Regions from separate parts of the Homo sapiens genome. Here region 2 is linked to region 1. Evidence: promoter capture Hi-C in human tissues and cell types (Jung and others, 2019). All regions are on one chromosome and are shown on one strand. The core of a region is centred on a gene start or on the middle of the fragment in contact, and the rest is flanking DNA. Distances in the headings are between cores, read along the strand shown. Region 1 holds the start of MAMDC2 (MAM domain containing 2). Region 2 overlaps MAMDC2 (MAM domain containing 2).

Region 1 (6,857 bases), core at 2,530-5,029:
TGGAACCAACCCAAATGCCCATCAGTGATAGACTGGATAAAGAAAATGTAGCACATATACAGCATGGAATACTATGCAGCAATACCAAAGAGTGAGTTTATGTCCTTTGCAGGGACATGGATGAAGCTGGAAGCCATCATTCTCAGCAAACTAACACAGGAACAGAAAACCAAACACCTCATGTTCTCACTCATAAGTGGGAGTTGAACAATGAGAACACACGGACACAAGGAGGGGAACTTCACACACCGGGGCCTGTTGGGGGTGGGGCGCAAGGGGAGGGAGAGTATTAGGACAAATACCTAAAGCATGCGGGGCTTAAAACCTAGATGACGGGATGATAGGTGCAGCAAACCACCATTCACATTTATACCTGTGTAACAAACCTGCACATTCTGCACATGTATCCCAGAACTTAAAGAAAAAAAAAAAAAGAAGTGCATGTGGGCAAAAGTCTCTGAAACCCACTACTTTCCATGGTGGATCCAGTACATGAAGGTGAATGGAACCATGGAACCAGTTTCAAAGGGTTTCTGCAGGAAGAAGTGCATTTGCAGAGAAGCTTGTGAACAGCTTGCCAAATTTCAGCCTGGAAGAATTTTATTATCTTTAATTTACCAACCTAGAAATGGGCTTATAAGGGAAATTCTTAGCGATGTCTTCTTAGGCAACCACAGCAACTGCCACACACCTACCTCACTGCCCTGGAGCCTGCAGTACACTGTTACGTCCAAGTTCTGGCCTTTGACAAACTGAAGCTGGAACAACTGGAGCCTAACCTGCCTGCTCCACCCTGGAGTGCTCAGAGGAGAATGAATTAACTTCCGCCAGCCAACCCAGTAGTCCCAGTCCTGAGCCAGAAAGCAGTGGTTGTTAGAAAGAATGCAGAAAGCAAAGCCACAGTGCCTTCGTTATACTATTAAACTGTAATCACCTTTTTCTATAAGCATCTTCCTGTTTTCCCTGAAGGGGGATGGTTTAACTGCTGTCCTGGGGCAGAGGTGCCAACTCAGCAGAGAGACTTCCTGTGGGTCTGGGAGGCAGTTGTGTTCAGCAGGCTGTGGCATGCCCACTGACCAGAGGCAGGCTGTGAGGGGGCCCCCATCCTGACAGAGGGCCGGAGGCAGGAACTCAGAGACTAACTAAGGCTCCTGGCTTAAGGAATGATGTTGATTTCCTTTTCTCAGGGCCAGCACTAGGATGAGGCAAGCCAAGTGCTTAGGGAACAAGACTTAAGTAGCTGTTCACTCTCGGGTCCTGCAAGTAGCTCCTTCACCCTAGTGCCAGACCTACTCAGAGCCAACAACAGCACAGGTTGTGTGTGTGTGTACACAGACTGTGGAAGTCGGCAGTTCTCAAAGTGTAGTCCCGAGACCAGCATCATCAGCATCACCTGGGAACTTGTTAGAAATTCTCAGGCCCCCTGAATCAGACACTCAGGAAGTGGGGCCCAGCAATCTGTGTCTTACAAGCCCACCAGGTGATTCTGATGCAGCTGAGGTTTGAGAAGCCCCGTGCTGGAGGAGTGTGCTCTCCAAAGCCAGTCTCGTGGCATTTCTAAGGCCATCTCCCGCAATGCTTCCATACAGCCAGTATAGGGAAAGGGTGAGTGGCAAGATTACAGAGACTTTCCTAAAGCCATCAGCAAGATAGGAATCCCTCGAATAATAAATCAAGAATTGCTTTTTCCCAGCCACCCCTAAGTAGACTGTAGTAGTCAAGACTTGGCAATTGTTGGATAAAGATGGAGATTACTACTGAACCAGTTCCTTCCTGTTTCTTCCTAACTAGACACTCAGAGTTAGCCACTCAGTGACACTGTGATATGGACTAGCCATTTGAATATTCTATGGCTGAGATTCCTTCCTCTGTAAAACGGGTCCAACATCACCTACCTGTGAGGGTCAGAGAAGCTAATGTATGCAGAACCCTGAGTAGAAGCCTGGGGCAGAGTGAGCTGTGGTGACAGTTCATACATCTAACCAGGGGTTCCGGGCTCCATCCTCCCCCAGGGAGCGAGGTGGGAGGATCTGCGGCCTGAGGACAATTGAGTGGGGAAGGAGGTGAGCTGGTTTCATCTAGGGTACCATGTTTTTTAAAGAAGGCTATTTTCCAATCCAAATAGTCTGTGGGCATCAGGCTTCACTGGTGGTGACAAAAGAGAGAGAAAGGAAAGAAGGGACACCCAGTGCCGCCTGCCATTGGGTACTGAGAACCACACTTTAAAACAAAAAACAAAAAAAACTATATAAAGGCAAGATGACACTTCAGAAGACCCCACATTTAAACTTTGTCCTTGGGACCCAAACAGTATAGAGTAGTAAGACAATGACCACCAGTGAGACAGGGACCCCAGGCATTTGGCAGTGTACATGGTTTCTTTTGTCCAGGGCAGGATTACAAACAGGAGTGTGAGGATGAAATCATGCAGCAAAAAACACTGTCAGGGTCAAGGCAGACGTGATGTCTTAGCACTGACGTCCCATCACAGAATTGTGGAACCATTTCTGCAAAGCTGAAGGAGAACTAGTCCCATGCAACTTTTCCCAACTCACAGACATGTCTCCTGAGGACCAGAAAGGTTGCTGGCCTGCAGAGGCACACAGCTGGTGTGCCTGCAGAGGCCCACAGCGGAGAACAATCATTAGCTGTGCTCCGTTTCTCCCTTCCATTAAGGAGTGCTGGGGTGAGACGCAAATTTTAAGCTTCTACCCATAGGCCAGGTAAACAAAGGGCGGCCTCCCGCCCGCCCCGTTCCTGCCTCGGCCATCCCTTGCAGCACAGCTGAGGGCTTGAAGGAGGATCCATGACTCACACTTTTCTTGCCGCGGAGAATTAACTCCAAGATAACATTACCCATGTGGGAAAAAAAAGCAAGCCATCAAGGAAGAAAGTTCACTTCGCGCCCCTCTCCACCGAGCCTCCTTACCTTCCTCATTTAAAATCCACGGCAGAGAGGCCAACACGGAGTCAAAGCCGCAAGTGCTCTCTTCAAAGGCACAGGACCCAGCGGGCAGGTCGAGGGCACCGGCGAGCTGCAGGGCTGCGGGCACAAAGCGAGTTTCAGTTCGAGCTCCACCCAGGAGCCTTTGCACCAACTCGGGGAGCCCCAGGGGGACTACCTGGTGAAAGTGGGGGAAAGACGAGCGGGAGGGGGCGGGAGAGGGATGCAGTACCTGTCCCCCAGCATCCCCGGGCGCCTCCACTGAGCGACCCCACGCCCACCCCCACCCCCACCCCAGGCTTGGCCAGGGGAGGGAGTTAGCGGCTGCGGAGGATCAGGAGGCGCCCTCGGATGGCCCAGCCCAGCACGGTGAGCCGGACCCCCGGGGGCAGCAGGAGCGGGGGCGAGTCGTCAGAGCGCCCCCGGGGTTGTCCCGGGGTCCAGGCCTTACCTTGCAACGCCAGGAGGACGCCCCTTAACAGCATGGTCGCGTTTCAGGGAGGATGACTAGGAAGGGGTGCAAGTTGCCAGCCCGCTGGGACTGGCTGCTCCTAGTGAAAGGGATCGTGGGAGGCGGGGGCGCCGGGGACCCAAGGAGGGAGAAGTCGAGAGGCAAAGCTTGCGCTCTGAGCTGCCCAACTTTGCAGAGCGGCTCCCGGAGCCGAGCGGTATGCTGGAAGGTGCTCGAATGGAGAGCGCCAGCGCCCCGGCGCTGAGCAGCAGCCTCAGGTCAGACCGCGGCCCAGCTGGTCCTGGGCGACGATGGGGCTGGACAGGGAGGAGACAACTGCACACTTTGAAAGGCCAGCCACGACTGGCTGGGAGAGGAGAGGTCGGCCCGCAGTGCCTTCGCTCAGGATTTTAAAGCTTGGGACCAGAGCCCTTGCAGACACTTGGAAGGGGCAGGCCTTCCAGGAGTCCCTCCGCTGGGTTGGGACCCGAGGCTCCCGCCCCGCCCAGCCGCGGTGGGAACTCGCTTATTTCTGGGGACAGCTTCCCTGCATCTGGCATGTCAGTCCCGCAGGGCTGGCCCTAATTTTAACTTCTTCTCCCCAGAATGAAAGAGGGTGGAATTCTCCAAGGACAGCCTGGAGGAAAATTTGGAAACGGTTGGGTGGAATAAGCTTTATATCTAAGGAGTTTCAGCGTTTACGGTCCAGCAATGCTAACCCTGGAATACCACCCCCACTTTTTTTAGCCGGTGGAATGTCTGGCATGCCTGGTGCTCAGCATTCCCTCCGTCCGGTGAAATGGGGGCATTCCTTCTCTCCAAAGAGCCATGATAGATTGATTAATGGGAGGCTTTACACTGGGAGGGGGTTGTTGGGGAGGGAGTTACTTCTGAGGAAGCTGTTTGCTTTGGGCACTAAGTGGGTCTCCAACAATATTCTTTTCTTGTAAAGAGTTCTTCTTCCTCCCCTCCTCTTCCTCCTCCTCCTCCTCCTTTCTCCCATTTATAATTTTGTGCAGGCAATTTTGTGAGGAGGGCAGTGGTTTTAAAACCTGAGGGTGCATCAGAATCTGCTGAAGGGCCTCACCCTCCGTTTCCGATCCAGTAGCTCTGGAGTGGGCCTGAGAGGCTGCACGTCCCTAATAAGTTTCCAGAGGCTGCTGCTGCCGCAGCGGGTTTGGAACAATACTTTGAGGACCACTGGCCTAACAAACTCCAGTTGAGCCATCAGTTCAACCTGCTCCCATGCCTTCACCTGGCTTCCAGACCGCTGGGTTTCCTGGTCTTTCATTGGCCGCCGCTTCTCGGCCTCTTTGCGTTACCTCTGTAACCCCTTAACATGAGAGTGCCTCCAAGTTCTTCCCTGTCACTCCTGTTTCTTTCTCTATCCAGCCCCTCAATGCTGTCCTCAAGTCTCATAGTTTTAGATACCAATGATAGCCTGATAACTCCCACATTTATATTTCTAACCCAGACTACTCACTAACGCCAGACTCTTCGATCTCATTGCCACCTCAACATTTCCAATCGGATGCTTCAGAGCTATTTCATACTTAACAGGTCCCAACATGAAGGCTGCATATTTCTTGCCAAACCTGCCCGTCCCCTGTGTCTTCCTCATCTCAGTAAAAGAACTATTTTCCTCCAGTTGTTCAGGAGAGAAAACTTGGAGGCATCTTCAGCTCATCCGTTCCTGTCAGACATTGCCAATTTCTATCAGCTCAGGATTCAAAACACAGCAGATGCTGACCATGCTCTGTGCCCATGGTGGTGATGCCTTGGTTGGTCCAAGCTGCCCTTGCCATCAACCTGGGATACCGCAGTGGCCTCCTGACCACGGTCTCCCTTCATTTTCTGCCCTGCCCACCCTACTCTATTCTGAACACACTAGTCAGGGTTATCCTTTTAATACAGAAATTGGGCCATGTCACTCCTTAGCTCAAGACCCAACAAGTTCCCAAGTCATTTAGTAAAGTCCAAAGTCTTCACGATGACCAACCAGGCCCTATAGGACCTGCTCCACCCTTTTCTTTCTTTTCTTGCTTTCCTTCTTTTTCTTTTTTTGAGACAGAATCCCACCCTGTCACCAGGCTGGAGTGCGATCTCTGTTCACTGCAAAGTCCACCTCCCAGGTTCAAGCAATTCTCCTGCCTCAGCCTCCCAAGTAGCTGGGATTACAGGCGTGTGACACCACGCCCAGCTAATTTTTGTATTTTTAGTAGAGACAGGGTTTCACCATGTTGGCCAGGATGGTTTCAATCTCTTGACATCATGATCCACCTGCCTCGGACTCCCGAAGTGCTGCGATTACAGGCGTGAGCCACTGCACCCAGCCCCACCCTCTTATTTCTCTGACTTCAATCACCCTGCTTACTCTTCTCTAGCCACACAGACCTCTTGGCTGATCCTCAAACACAGTCCAGCTATCCTTTCAGAATTTTGCACTGGCTGTTCTTTCTGCTCAAAATGCTCTTCCACAAAGAGCCACACAACTCACCGCCTAATGAGGTCTTCACTCAGATGTCACTTTCAGTATTAGAAAATTAGTAACCTTCTCCCTAATAAGGAAAATATATCTGGAATCCTTTTTTAAAGGTAGGAACAAATTTTCATGTGTTTTCTGTAAACAATGATTCAAATGGTCAAAAATTTATTCATTAGTGTGTGCTATTTGGTGTATATGTATCTTTTTTTATTTATATGCTTTGCCTCAGGTAGTAGCTAATAATAACATTTATTGTGTTTACCATTATAAATGTTTTATGTAGATAATCTCATTTAAGCTTCACAAAATCTCTACAGGATAAATATGTTCATTATCCCCATTTAATAGATGGGGAAACTGAGGCACAGAGTTCAGTGACTGTGGACAGTAGAGACAAAACTCAAACCCAGATCTGCTTTATTCCAAAAGCCTATTTTCTCAACCAGTACAGGACTTCTCTCACTTGGGTCTTATATTCTTTTTTTTTTTGACTTCTTGATCACAGATGGTGCTAAATATCTGATGAATTTCATCACACTACTTAACTAAAAATTCAAAGACAGTTATACATTCAGTCGAAACCTCAAAACATTATTTTCAACTAAAGAAGTTTTCAGCAACAATCAAACTGGTGCTCCTTTTTCCAGATACTTAAGGAGTATTTCAAAGTTTTAGAATTGCCTTAGATTCATGTCGTATGTTCTAAGTCATAGGAAAATGAAAAACTTCAAAGCCCTAAAGAGATCCTTCCAAAATTTAAAATATGATTTACAACCTTAACGTGACATTGTGTATTGCCACCTATGGGAACAGAATCATACATAAGTACAAACTCAGACCAAATTTTCTATTTTGCATATAATTGTTTGATCCCAAGAATATATGATCCTTAGACATTGGCACAAGTTAGAATGTCTGGGAAGCAGACTCTGATTTGAAGTTTAATGTGCAGGGTGTTTAATCAGGAGTACCTTGGG
Region 2 (6,857 bases), core at 3,009-5,508, 80 kb before region 1:
CCAAACTCACAGAAAATTTTCCACTGGGCTGCAAGAACAAATCGAGACCTGGTTGGACTTTGGGATAGGAAATAGCACACATTCTGCAAGAGACACTGTGCTCTCTCTAGAGTGTTTTTTTTTTGTGGGGGGAGGTAGGGAGGTAAATAGGAAGGGGGTGTGGGGAGAGGCAGGCACGCCATCAGTAGATGAAACACATCAGAAACTAAGACCTAACCCTGTTCTCTGCAGCTCTACATCAGGCTAGCAGATGGCACCACCGAAACCCATCCAGAGGAATAATCTGTTTCTCTGGCACTTTAAAGGGAACTGGAGAAGATATTGCAAAAAGCACAAAGTGAAAAGTGGAGGATATTAATAACTTGGGGTAACCAAGACTCTACTTATAGCTCCAAATCTTTATAGCAATCTTATAGCAACCATATTGCTGCACCCACTGATTCTAGAGGTCCTAAGGGGTCCTCAGACAGAGCTGGGCCTCCTTCCTCAGCTTTCGGTCAGATTTTAGTCCACGAACTTAGTTACGGAGTTCTCTGGCATTCACCAGCTGTGTGACCTAGAAAAAAATGTCCAATTTCTTGGACACTCTGTTTTCTTCCTTCTTGTGTGTAAATACGGAGATAATTTTATCTACTTGGCTGGATAGTCAGTACTGAAAGTACTTGTAGCTTCTGAAATACATACATAGATACAGACATGTATTCATGTACGGGCTTAGAAAAAGGTCGAAAAGATAGTAGAACTTTAATGTTAGTAGTCCTCCCCTTTGTGAAGTTGGCTGAGGGCATTTTAATTCATTTCATTTCTCTGAATTTTCTAATTCTTCTGCATTGAACACGTCACTTATATAACTGGAAAAAGTTTTAAAATGAAGGCATCAAGCCTTGTTTCAAACTAGGGCCATAATAGCAAGTTTGTTTCTGATTTTACGACATTATTTATGCTGCAAAAAAAGAAATGAGTCACTTTTTCTAAAAAAAAAAAAAAAACAGTTCACTCAAGTAAGGAAAACCTTCAAAACTGCTCTCAGGAAGGGTAGCTCAAGACTGAGTTTTACTTGGAGGGTTCTGATCTCCTCTTTTGAACCCTCTGTGACCACAGTGCAAGGTTCAGAAGGAGAGGGTCGCCAAGAAGTCTAGTTGGTTAACTGGCTTTAGCCATATTTGTTCTCATAAAAATGACTCTTGCTAGGAAATGAAGGTGATAAAGGAGGCAGGCAAAGGGGACACAGAGGAAGGGAGAGCAGGAGAGGGGCTGAGGATGAGAAAGAATACAGTTGAGGCACAGCAGAAAAGACAGACTGAGTGTGAGGCTGCACAGCCTCTCCATCTCCAGCCCTGTGTGTGGGTGGCATGTCTAAAGAGTGCCAGTGAACAGCTGGTGCGCACCAGTACACCTACCTCCATGGGGTAAGGAGCACTGAACTCGACCTCCGCAAGGTTCCAGGCAGCATTCCCTGGCCTGTCTGCTTTCCAGATTTCCTCGTAAAGGCCAGCCACATCCCGAGTGTAAAGGGAAAAGACATTGTCATTCCCCTGCTGGATCTGGTAATAAAATGACAGGCAGCCAGCCATGGGGGCCGTGGTCAACGGGGAGATGAGCTGTGCCACCTCCTGGAAGTGCTTCACATAAACTGAGTCCACGTACATGTAGTGGCCTGAAAATCACACAGACAGAGCACAGTGTTAAGAGTTGGGGGTGGGGGAGGGGAAGAGGTTCAGGCGAAATGGTGTGATTCTGCATTCTAAATAATCCAGTGGGAATGGTGAGGAGGAAGTGGATGAGTTACAGCTGACAGAGGTTTGGCCATGAGTGGATGGAGAAATGTTGCAGCTGAGAGATGGGTCCATGGGGTTCATTGCACTCTGCTAAATACAGGATGAGACCATTCCTTTTACTTTCCTTACTTTTGATTCAAGTAAAATATACACAGAGAAAGGTAGATGTGTCATCTGTCAAGTGCTTAAGTTTTCACAAGCTGAACACACCCATGGAGAGAAATAGAACATTACCTGAGAAGCCACTCCCTCCCAATCCTTATTTGAGTCATAAGACTCTGAAGAGCACACAAAGACAAAGCTTACCATCTATTCTTAAAAGGGCATGGAGAGACCCTCCTGCACATGTTTACAATTAATGCAAGATGTCACCATGTGTTTTTTGAGTGAAACTAAGATTTTGAATTCCAACTATATGGCAATTTGTGTGTTGTTAATAGCATGCAAGTCAATCGACACTGAAATTTGGAGGAGTGAATGTGTGGTACCACTCTTGGCAGGTCTTTGTGGGCTCTGGACCCAGAGGCTGGCCTCCATTAGGGGCATCTTGGTGAAACACAGAAACCATGTGGCAGAATGGAGACAGCCTTGACTTAGCATTGAAGAGAAATGAGGTTGAATCCTGCTCCACTTCTTACTAGCCCTGTGACCTTGAACAAGTTTCTGAGTATGTCTGGGTCTCAATTTCCTGATCTCTAGAATGACAATCAAATACTTTCCTCATAGAGGCAATGAATATTACATGGAGTCATGTATGTAAAGTGCTTAGCGTGTGCCTGGTACATTGTAGCTGTCTAACAATTACAACGCCATTCACAATTCTAGAACCATGCTTGCCCTATAGCCTGTTTTGTATAAAGGGTAAGCTATCATTGTTAGCAATTTTTTCTGAATTCATTTGAGTGATGACAAAGAAGTGCTATTCAATGCAGCTTCAACAGAATGCCCTTTCTGTTTACAAGCTCAGAATAATTACAGCTTAATATCTTCATTTCCATGACATAATTTCTGGTTAATAAGAATTCCTGGCCAGGTGCAGTGACTCATGCCTGTAATCCCAACACTTTGGGAGGCTGAGGCGGGAGCATTGCTTGAGGCCAGGAACTTGAGACCAGCCTGGGCAACATAGTGAGACCCCTGTCTCTACAGAAAAGCTTTCTTAAAATTAGCTGGGCATGGTAGCATGCACCTCTGGTCTTAGCTATTAGGGAGGCTGAGGCAGGAGAATCACTTGAGCCTATGAGTTCAAGGTTGCAGTAAGCTATGATCACACCACTGTACTCCAGCCTGGGTGATAAGCAAGACCCTGTCTCCAAAAAATAAAATAAGGAAATAAAGAATACCTTTTCTCCATTATGAAGAGCAGAGCAGAAACAAATATTAGGAGGAGCATATGCATTTATACACTGGACATTTACTGTGTATCTAGTACATAGCCCGGTATGTGGTGGGCTCTCAACACATGGTTATTTAATGTACAGACATGGTCTCAGAAAGGTCCTCATCTCAACATGGCAGAAGGGAAAAATGGACAGGTCAAAGCTCACTTTCTCCTGGTGGCAAGTTGTTCAACATCCTGAATCCCCTGAATAATCTTCTTTGAATATAGTTTACCTTATCGTTTTGCCAAACCACACAACAGTGAATAAACAGAGATTACAAACTCAAATTCTCAGAGGAGGCAGCCAGATTAAGTGTATGAGTGAAGTTGATTGAGTCAGGGAGAAAATAGAGAGTGGTAAATTAGTAGCCAGTATTTGAAATCATATTTCCCCCACATCGAGAAACAGAAATCAAGCTTATCTGGAAAAATAAAAACATCTGATAGTCCTAGGCCCATATTCTTATGCGGCAATAACCGGCTTGGGGTGAGAAGCCTGGCCCCTCACCCCCATGTTCTCCAGCCTCCCTGAGAGAGCAGGGTCTACTGCAGCGGATGCCCGGCACCCAGCCCCATGCTGCAGGCTTTCCCCATCCTAGCCTGGAATTCAGGTTTTCACGGCAAATCTATCCATTTTTAAGGGATGCTTCCTGTGTGGTTTGCTAGGGCTGCTGTCACAAAATACTGCAAAGTGGGAGGCTTCAGCAACACACATGTATTGCCTCACAGTTCTGGAGTCCAGAAGTCAAGGATCAAGGTGTCAGCAGGGATTGTTCCTTCTCAGGGCCGTGAGGGAAGGATTTGTTCTGGGCCTCTCTCCCGGCTTCTGGTGGTGTGCTGGCAATCTTTGGCATTCCTTGGCTTGAAGGCCTCTGCCTTTATCTTTACATGGCATTCTCCCTGTGTACATTTCTCTCTGTGCCCAAAGTTCCCCTTTTAATAAGGACTGCGGTCATATTGGATTGGAGGCCCACCCTACTCCAGCATGACCTCATCTTAGCTAATGACCTCTGCACCCATCTATGTCCAAGCAAGGTCACATTCTAAGTCCTGGGGGTTAGGACTTCAACATTTGAATTTTGACTGTGCACAATTCAACGCCTAACACTCCCCACCATATTTTTTTAAACTTTGTATGCGCCAAATAAACATATCTGCAGGCTGGAAACCACTGTTGGCTCCACTTTGCCACCTCTGGGCAGGAATTTTAAAGGAAGAATCGGAATGACAGACTGGATAGAATCAAAGAACCTCTGATATGGAGGGAAGGTCACTCCTCCATATCCCAAGCTTGGAAACCCTCTAAAGCACTCCTGGTGGCCAGCAAGCCTTGACGAGAACATTCTAGTAGTGGAGAATGCCTATGACCAGTTAGCTTCTGTAATCTGCTTCTGTTCTCTAAGAACTCATGTGAATATCAAAGACAGAGATGAAGTCTTCATTGCTCTTTGTAACATGACTTACCAATGAAACAGAATCTTTTTGTGAGATATGAGCAGGGAGAACTGAGTGGAGGAGAGCTACAATTCTTTGTATTATAATGTATGTGTAATACTTTGTTTCCTGGATACCTAATTGCAGGGGCCACAGAGATCCCCTTTAAGAGAACTTGCTGAAGGAACCATCATTGACTGGGTCTCCAGCCACCTCACCTTTGGACCTGCAGGAGAGTTTGTACCAAGACCACACCACTCTGGGCTGCTCCCAGGCAGTGACCAAGCATAGCAGAGGGGCAGGCCATTCTGTCTGCCATGGGGCCCTTCAGCAGCTCCCATCGGCCCAGGTTCTCCTCTTCCTCAGGGGTCAGGTTTGCGTCCTGAGCTGAAAGTTTTCCCTACCCAGGGCATCTTTATGACTTTTGTGGGCTCATTCCTCCATAAAAAAAATAAAAATAAATAAAATAATCTTAACATTTTAGTTTATTACTACATTGGCATAAAGAGGTATATGATGTAGGCTAGAAATTATTATATTCATTTTACCCTTCCAATTTTCAAATAAATAAAATTAAAATATTGTCATGGACCCCTAAAAATGCCATGGCTCCTAGGCACTATGGCTGCTGTGCCCCATAAGGACACTGGGCCTGTCCCCAGCTACTCTGGCTCCTTTCTCCTCAGAGCCTTCATAGCCATCTCTCCCAGGAAATCTCTTTCCCACCTAGTCCCAGCTTAGTGTCAGCTTCCACAGCCAGCCTTGTTGTAAATTCATCTTCCTTGCAGATGACGGACATCTGAGAGTTGTCTTTAAAGGGTAGTAACTCACCTGCTGTGTGGACAATATTTTGTGCATTTGCAGCCAAAGTGCCTCACTAGCAACTTGTGCTCAGGATGCTAGGCCAAGTGAACCACAGTCACATTTCTGATCCAAAAAGCATCCAGAAAACACAACATGATCTGCCCAAAGTGAGTCAGAGAGGCTGCTGGGAATAAGACCAAGACTGCTGACACTAAGTCTCATACAGAACCACCAGACTAGACCGCATGCTCTTGTACCCTTTTTCTTTCCATCATTCATTTGTTGCCAAAGCTGGGTTCTATTTACTGACAATTTGAGCAACATTAAGCTTCTCATTGGGGAACAAAAGGTAGCTCATCATGAGTTTACTATCTCAGTTGAACTGTTAGGGGTGATTCAGAAATTGTCATTCAGGTGTCTGCCCCAGGAGAAGAGGCTGGAGGAATGACAGCCAAACCAGGCTGAGTGTGTCATCAGATACAATCTGTTCTGAGGAAGAGGAGTCAATGGGTAGGTGGCTGCAGGTGCCATTGTATTCTCCTTTCTAAAAACAATGATGGTAGCCTGGAGTTCTTGGAAAATTTTGTCCAGTGTCTGATATTAGGAGAATCTTCCTGCCTAGTTCAATGAACCCAACACTCCTATCTGGCATAGGGCTCTAGAGCTTCCAGAACCTCTGGAAAAGGCTTTTTTTTTTTTTTCCTTTGTCAGATCGTTAAGATTCAAGTAGGATGAAACTAGGTATAGATGGACTTTAAGTAGACAGAATCCTTTAATCTGCCAAATCACTGGATACCCTGCAGGCCACAGAGATTCTAAAGTATTACAACTTGAACTGAAAACGAAAGAGGTTATATGGGGGAAATGGGTTCCCCCATAAGATTAAGAATTGAGAAGCTTATTGCCATTCCTCTACAATCTGTTCTGCTTTGCCATACACAGAGTGAAAATCAATCTATTATTACCTAATTCTGGATTATACACAAAGAGCCTGAGGTTTCTAGGCAAAAAAAAAATTCAAATTCAGTTGAAAGAAAGATCACAGTTCTCAGTCATGCTGCCAGTGCTCAGGCCCCTTCTGGGATGGAGCCTGCAGTGCTGGTGTATGCACACTTGCTCCTGAAGAGGCTGTCTGTTCCTTTCTTGCAGCAGCCCTCTGTATTAGCTGAACTTTTCATGTGGAACCAGTGGCCCCTGGTAGTCAGCCATTTCCCCTTGCATTAGGGAAAGAACTTTAAAGGCGGTTCCTGAATGTTTATTTTCAAGCAGTCTGGCTCACCAGCATTCCCCTAAGACTGCCCTTGGCTTGGCCGCGGTGCCAGAGGCATCCTCTGACTCAGCTGTGATGCGCCCTGCTGGCCACATTTGCACTCCAGTTGTGTTGTCTGCTCCAGTGTTGCTGGTTGTCTGGACAAGCTGTCTCCCCAGTAGGGCAGACAACCTGGTCTGAAGAGATGTAT

Evidence for each region. The method cuts DNA at HindIII sites, captures the fragments that hold promoters and counts their contacts. A contact is called where the count stands out against the background at its distance.
Region 2: a contact is called between a fragment that was not itself captured here and the fragment with the promoter of MAMDC2 in region 1, in 2 of the 25 tissues and cell types used here (dorsolateral prefrontal cortex and spleen).

The regions. Positions count from the first base shown.
Region 1 is chr9:70,040,770-70,047,626 of GRCh38, reverse strand. It overlaps MAMDC2 (MAM domain containing 2), which reads right to left and starts at 3,779. Exons shown (of 14, transcript NM_153267.5): 1 at 3,396-3,779; 2 at 2,930-3,043. The coding sequence starts at 3,429. It overlaps LOC124902179 (a long non-coding RNA gene), which reads left to right and starts at 3,586. Exons shown (of 2, transcript XR_007061571.1): 1 at 3,586-3,673. RefSeq lists a silencer at 3,500-3,794. The HindIII fragment of the contact is 1,989 bases long and covers 3,135-5,123 here.
Region 2 is chr9:70,120,959-70,127,815 of GRCh38, reverse strand. It overlaps MAMDC2 (MAM domain containing 2), which reads right to left. Exons shown (of 14, transcript NM_153267.5): 6 at 1,401-1,657. Among named protein-coding and RNA genes, the nearest start is that of MAMDC2-AS1, 52 kb to the left of the region's middle. The HindIII fragment of the contact is 3,504 bases long and covers 2,507-6,010 here.